2 separate regions of the Homo sapiens genome follow, and region 2 is linked to region 1. The links are contacts of gene promoters, found by promoter capture Hi-C in blood cells and fetal thymus (Javierre and others, 2016). All regions are on one chromosome and are shown on one strand. Each heading gives the region's core, a stretch centred on a gene start or on the middle of the fragment in contact. The rest is flanking DNA. Distances are from core to core; before and after follow the strand shown.

The links. Contacts are between HindIII fragments. The CHiCAGO score rates a contact against its expected background, and 5 or more counts as called.
Region 2: a contact is called between a fragment that was not itself captured here and the fragment with the promoter of CDC7 in region 1, in 1 of 17 cell types (activated CD4 T cells). The highest score is 5.2, in activated CD4 T cells.

Annotation. Positions count from the first base shown.
Region 1 is chr1:91,498,802-91,502,515 of GRCh38, reverse strand. CDC7 (cell division cycle 7) reads right to left here and starts at 1,665. Exons shown (of 12, transcript NM_003503.4): 1 at 1,568-1,665; 2 at 685-862. The coding sequence starts at 799. LOC105378856 (a long non-coding RNA gene) reads left to right here and starts at 1,668. Exons shown (of 3, transcript XR_947599.4): 1 at 1,668-3,714. RefSeq lists an enhancer at 824-1,023. The HindIII fragment of the contact is 5,865 bases long and covers 367-3,714 here.
Region 2 is chr1:92,604,630-92,608,343 of GRCh38, reverse strand. EVI5 (ecotropic viral integration site 5) reads left to right here. Exons shown (of 20, transcript NM_001350197.2): 17 at 617-763; 18 at 2,942-3,037. Among named protein-coding and RNA genes, the nearest start is that of GFI1, 120 kb to the right of the region's middle. The HindIII fragment of the contact is 823 bases long and covers 1,691-2,513 here.

The sequences.
Region 1 (3,714 bases), core at 416-2,915:
CAAGCACAGAATTCACTTAAGACAAAGATGGGAAAGATGATCTGGCTACCCTTTCAGAAAAAAAAAAATACAGTCAACTAGAATTCCTCTATTTAACAAATATTTATTATTAACAAATACCTACTATGTCCCAGGTCCTGTGCCAGAGCAGAAATGAAGGTACACATGCGAGTGTACAAGAGCAGGCACTGCTTGACCCTGTCTTATTCACCCTAAGGTCTGGTTTACGGTCAAAGAACATTTCATGCTGTACACTGAGATATGGTGCTTTATTATTGCTACAAACATTTCATATTTTTTTGTCTGTGAGTTCTGCTTTTGAATACTTAAGTGATGATCTCCAGTGTCAATTTCTACATTTAAGCTTAAGGCAATGTGGTGAGTAGAGATAAGAACACAGATACAAAAGAGAAATTTAATTTGGGCATCATCAAATTTCTGCATTCTTAATTACCAATACTGAGACCATAGCAACTTCAACCGTAAAACAGGTTGTATTACAGTCTTCCAAATCGCAATTCAGTCCTACATTTAGATCATACGAAGCTCTGTTTTAACACTGTCCTATAGAAACATACAATTCACTTTATAAGATTCAATCTTATTTTTTGAGAGGAATTGAAAACACAGAATTGTTGCCTGAAAAATCTTTATAACTGTACATCTTTGGATTTAAACACGTACCTGCAAGTTTAAAATTCTGCTCGTTTTTTTTTAAAGAGCCTTCAGCCTGAAACCGGTCACGCTGGGGAGAAAAAGCCATTGGCTCATCCATCTGAATCCCCAAAGACGCCTCCATCACAAGCCAATTGAGATGCAAAATGCCAGCTAAGGGGTTACATCCACAGGGGGAGCAAAGCAGCTGTGAAAATTAGAACACTAGAGAAATTTAGATCACTCGCTAAACCACGCACTAAAAACATGCTACTGCCCCCCAAAGGGGCAAACATTTTCAAACGCACGATGTGTCCAAACCTCCACAGTAGGGCATACTGTGGCCTTGTCTAAGGAATTCCATGTGCTTTATTTTCACCTATCAGAAACACCGGCAGGGGGCTGCAGGGAGAATTTCCCGGCTTGGGCACCCGCGCAGCAGCAGGCGCAGTGGGAAACGGCGAGGCTGCCAGTCCGGCACAGCCAGCGGGACCGCGTGGGGGAGGGGCCGAGCGCCGGGGGCGGTTTGAAGTCAGGAAAAGAACTGAGGGAGAAAACCTTTTCGCCACTGACAGGAAGCGCCAGGAGGCTCGTCCAAGGCCCCAAGCAAGTTGACGGAGAACTGATACGACCCTGGCCACGAGTACTGGGCGGAGGAGGAGAAGGGTGAATGAATGGGAATCCGCCGGCCAGCGCTGGCCGCGAGCTCAGCCGGGAAGGACCGGCTTCCCTCGGGCCAGAGACCGAACCAGATGCTTAGTGCGCAGGCGCGCGACTTTCCCGCCGCAGGTCGGAGGGATCCGAAGGGGGGCGGGAAAAGGAACTGCACGGCGAGAAAACCGAAGTCACGATCCAGAATTCGTTCCTAATCCCTCACAATCCCGCGCCATGGAACAAACCGTCGGAAACTCACGGTTTAAGGGAGTACGACTTCTGTGGCTCCCCAGATGCCTGGGTCGCCGTCTCCAAGAGATCCCCACCTACCGAGTCGATCGGATGCGCCTGCGCAACACTTCCCGCCGCCGCTCTGGTTGCACATGCGCACACTAAAGCCCTCGACCCCGCGGATTCCGCTACTGGGCGTTTGCGCAAGAGGGTGGGGTTTCTTCCCGCCGCCTTGGCCAGCTAGAAGAGCGGTTACGGGAATGAAGCCCGTGGATGATCTTAAAAAACAGGGTGAACCATAAGGCTAAGGGCCCAGCATGATTTCCAGGAAAGAAGCTAGCTCAGAGAAGGAAAAATCTCAGGTGCTGACACATCCCTATATACGTGGCCGGCCGCACAACACATTGGGCACTCCATGGATAAAAGGCACTTTCTTGACTCTGCTTTTATTTCCTTTTCGTTGAGTGCCCTACTTCCCCGTTAAAAACAAGCAGAAAATGTAATTGCTGATTGTTTGTGGCTGTGTTAGTAGAAATTAGCACAGTGGCAGGAAGGCAGTGTATACTATTTACTGAGCCCTTGGCTATGAGGTAGGTGGGTTTTTCTAGGGGCTGGAATCATAGTGAGCAAGATAAACACCATCCCTGTAGGAAGCTAAATTCCAATGAAGCGATGACAATAACGGATGAATAAATGAACAGTATTCTTTCCGGCATTGATTACTACTTGAGGGAAATACTGACCAGGAAGGTGGCATCTAGATGGTCAGGGAAGCCCTCTCAAAGAGACCTGGATGAGAAAGAGCTGGTAGGGAGACTGTTGTCCTGGCAAAGAAAGGATAGGGCAAATGCAGAGAGAAAGAGGAACTTGGTATGTTGCAGGGGCAGGGCAGGAAAGGCCAGTGTGGGGGAAGCATAGTGAGTGAGCCGCAAGATAGTCCCAGATAGATGAAGGTGGAGAGTTAGGCAGAAGCCAGACCAGGGTCCTTGAAAGCCAGGGTAAGAAGTTTAGTGTTTGTTCTGAGTACAATTGGAAGCTATTTGAAAGTTTTAAAGCAAGGGAGTAATATGATCTATCTGTTATGAAGAGAATGGATTGTAGAGGGGCAAGTGTGGAAGCAGAGGAAATAGGATGCACTTTATGTTTAGGAGAAACATAATGGTAGTTTGGACCAGAACAATGGCGGAAGAAATAAAAGAAAGAAGACAATGGGATTTGGTGATTGGCTATGGAAAATGAAGAAAAGGGCATCATCAACAGTGAATCTTAGGTTTTGGGCTAGCATATGTGTGGGTGGTAGTGCCACATAGAAGGGAAGTCTGTGAGGTAATGGTTTTTGATTGAGTGAGGTGGAAGAGAGTAAATCAAGGATTCTAGTGTGGATACCGAGAAAGAGAAAAGCAGACCTTGACATCCAGGAGATGGCCTGGTACTACCAGCTTGGTTTGCTGTTGCTTTGAGCTGGCCTGGCAATCACAGCCAAGCATTGGTATTCTTCTGTTGAACATAAACAATTTCACAGAACATCAGACAAGACAGAGTTGTGACCGTGATAGATCAAGACAAAAGTAAGATCACTCTATAATCATATGTGAACACAGACACAACATCAACATTGCCCAAGCCATAAAAATGATCAAATATCTCCTTATCCTAGCTAATATGAGTGCCTGCTGCTTCTTTACCAATTATAGTTTTAACCTCAGTCTAGTCTTCCTTCCTTCTACATAATACTTATTAAAATACCCAATTATAGAATTATCCTTGCTTCCTTACAGCTTCCAATCCAGGCCAAAGTCCCTCTTTCTTGCACCCTTCCGTAAATCTCCTAACACAAACTCAAATTCTATAACAAGTCCTTTTTAACACCCTCTTCCTAAGACATCCCATGGTTCCCCATGGTGTGCATTCTCACGTACTGAAACAAGCAATACATCCAAGTTGCTCAGCTATAGTTGTGTTCCTGGTGGTCATTATCGGGAGGTCGTTAACAATAATCAAGTCCAAGATATGCAAGTGATGATGTCAAAGAAACAGATGAATATATTGGTCTGGGGTATAGTTCAGGGTGAAGAAATAAACTTGGCAGTTATGAATTTATAGATGAAACCTAGTCTTGGACTATACGATATTATCTAAGCAAAGATTGTAGATGGAGAGTTGGGCTATGATAAC
Region 2 (3,714 bases), core at 853-3,352, 1.1 Mb before region 1:
ATTTTGTACTCCCATTGCCAATCTTAGAAAGGAATACCTTCAAGTTGTGTATAAGAATTTTTATAGTTTACACCTATTTTTTGTATAAATGGTATATTGAGCTATATTGAGAGTCTCTAATATTGACAGTATGCATTCCTTTGGATGACTTGATTTTATTTATTTATTTATTTATTTTTAATTTTTTTTTTTTGAGACGGAGTCTCGCTCTGTCGCCCAGGCTGGAGTGCAGTGGCTCAGTCTCCGCTCACTGCAGGCTCCACCTCCTGGGTTCACGCCATTCTCCAGCTTCAGCCTCCCGAGTACCTGGGACTACAGGTGCCCGCCACCATGCCTGGCTAATTTTTTTTTTTTGTAATTTTAGTAGAGACGGGGTTTCACCGCGTTAGCCGGGATGGTCTTGATCTCCTGACCTTGTGATCCGCCCGCCTCAGCCTTGAATGACTTGATTTTAAAGGCAGTTTTATCTTATTTTTTAATGTTGATTTTGTTGAATAACAGTGACCTATAACTAGTAACATTTTTAATAATGTTATGGTATAAAATGGATAGGTAATTTTTTTTAATTTTTAGGTCTTGTATCTATAGTCTCAGTATTTATATTTCTGATTATTAGAACCAGATCAATAGTAACCATCTTCGAAGAGCAGAACAAGAGGTGATTAGCCTACAGGAGAAAGTGCAGTATCTTTCTGCACAGAACAAAGGACTCCTTACTCAATTAAGTGAAGCAAAGCGTAAACAAGCAGAGATTGAATGCAAGGTAAATATGTCAACTAACTGATTTTGTTTTTTGTCAATATAATAATGCCTTTTTTTTGTTTGTTTTATCGTGATTAGATTATCTTAAAAACAAAACAAAAAAGCTCGTCCTATTTTCTACTTTTCCTGAACTTGTTTTGGTAGTTGCTTTCAGACCAGGTCAGCTCATCTTGCTTCTGGGGTGGATTTTAGTCAAGAAACATTTTCAGTCACTTCCTTGGTTAATTTAATTTCCTGGATTGGCATTTACTAGTATTTCTTTACAGTTTTTCTTTTGACTGGTAACCCTTTAAAACCAGAGCTTTTAATGGCTTGATCAAAAAAGATGGGTCATTTAGAGAGGTTAGGGCTCCTCTGCTTTGATTGGTATCTTATTAGTGGGCAGTAATGTTAATAACATTGATACATGTTTTCTGGATAGACTAGAGAGCAAAAGAAATGTGTATGTACCAGTGTGTTGGGAAAAATGGGTATATTACCCATTATTATTTTAATCAGTTATATACTTTACTTTTTTGTGAAGTGTTTGGATTCAAAAAGCATCAAAAGTATTTGAATGCAAGTACATTCTTTCCTGAAATAAATTTACAATATAGCAGTGGTGAGAGAGTGGGGGAAAGGCAGTGAGATGGAAGGAGAGGAGGGAGGGTTTGGGGGGGTGTGTGTGTGTGTGTGTGTGTGTGTGTGTGTGTGTGAAATAACTAAAGAGATGACTGTAGACTGGGCATTAGAATGGATTACTAAAGGCAAGTTATGGGATTTAAAAAAATAAACTAGGCATCCACCTTTCCATGGTGAGATAGTAGGAATGATGCCCTTTAAAGATTCCAGCCTTATTATTGTATAAGAAATAAGACTTTTGATGGCACATGTAAAGCTGTAATTCCATCAGCTTATTCTGGTGACATTAAAAACCAAGAGTGAAGCTTGAATGGTTTATCAGTGTCACTGAAATCCAGAGATGAAATTACATCCTTATAAATATGCATGGCTGTTACAATGTATACTGACAGAAATCTGTAGGCAGTACTGAAATTCCTACTAAAAGCACAGTCACTTTTGAAGGATATGACTAAACTATAAATAAAATAATATTAAATGAGGTTGTATCAGTCTGATTTGTCATACCAATATCTGATTGAGTTTTTATGATGCTAAATTGTCTGTGTTGACATCTTATAGATAACTAAATTTAATCTTTTATTTATTATTGGTGTTAGTTTTCCTTAAACATATTTTGATAATGGTGTTACTAGATTAAATATTGCTCCTCAAATGCCTTAGTACCTGTTGAGCAAAGTAAAGTGTTCTTTGGAAATAAATCTTTGAGGAACTTGCTGTTGAAAATAATAATTTTCTTTGAACTTGTCTAAGTAATGGGCTCAGATTTAGAATATTAGAGGATTTTATGAACTAATATGGGATTTTATTTAATTTTTAATTGTTCATTAATACCTCTGTGAAGTATGTTACAGATGCAAACTCTGATATCTCCCCTGTGTTTAAGCTGTGTGTTAATTTATTCAATCTTTCGTGATGCCTTTGCAGGTTTTGAGAATGACCAATGTATTGTTACCCTAGCACCTAGTACATTCTGATTAAATGTGTATGTTTTACCCTGTTATGTTGGAATAATTCGGGAACAAAGTTAATTTTTCAAGAAAGCCAGTCCGTGAATTATGTAAATCTGATTCATTTTCATTTAGTATTATAATATTATAGCTTATGATTAATTTATAATTATTAAAGCTTTTTTATTTTTAGTTGTGTAAAATGTGTGGATATTGTTTATAATATTAATGTTATTTTCCCTCTCAACTTAATTTGAATGTTCTCACTTAAAGTTGAAATATTACAAGCCTGTGAACCCCAGTTTCAAAATGCAAAACACTCTAAAACCCTGGAGTTTTTTCATAAATTTCACACAAATTCCTTTGGAGGCAAAACTTAATTTGAATTGATATATGGCCATTTATAATTGTTATTTATTCCACTTGATGTGAACATTTATATCTCACTGCTTCGTTGTATGTATTGAGCATATTGTTTCATTATGGATGCTGCCTTAGACCCTGCTAGATAATACTTAACGTATGGTTTATGCAACCTATTACTTTTCTAAAATCTGAATTCCAAACACACCTGGTTTATTTTGTTTCGGTTTGGTTTACCACACTAGAATAAGGAAGAAGTGATGGCTGTGAGGCTTCGGGAAGCAGATAGCATAGCTGCTGTGGCTGAACTACGACAACACATTGCTGAGCTTGAAATCCAGGTACCATATGAAAATAATAAAGTACATGTAAAAATATAGTTTCTTCTATCCTCTTTGTCTGAACAGTAACTTACTCTTTATCCTCGTGACTGTGATTCTTTTTTCAGTAATCATTCATTTCCAATTTTTTTTTATTGTGGTAAAATAGACATAAAACTTACCATTTTAAAGTATACAGTTCTGCAGCATTAAGTATATTTGACACTGTTGTGCAGCCATCACCACCATCCATATCCAGAACTTTTTCATCCTCCCTAACTGAACCTCTTTGCCCATTAAACACTAACTTCCCATTCCCCAGCAACTGGCAACCACCAGCAACTGGAAACCACCATTCTACTTTGTCTCTATGAGTTTGACCACTCTGGTTACCTCATATAAGTGGGATCATACAATACAGTCATATGCTGCATAAGGACATTTCAGTGACGGACAGCATATATGGTAATGGTCCCATAGGATGATAATGAAGCTGAAAAATTCCTTTTGCCTAGTGACTATAGCCATCATTATGTTATAGTGCAACACATTACTCATGTGTTTGTGATGAGGCTGGTATAAACAAACCCACTGCACTGCCACTCTTATAAAAGTGTAGCACGTACAGTTGTGTATAGCACATAATACTTGATAATAAATGACTATGTTACTGGTTCATATGTTTGCTATACTATTTG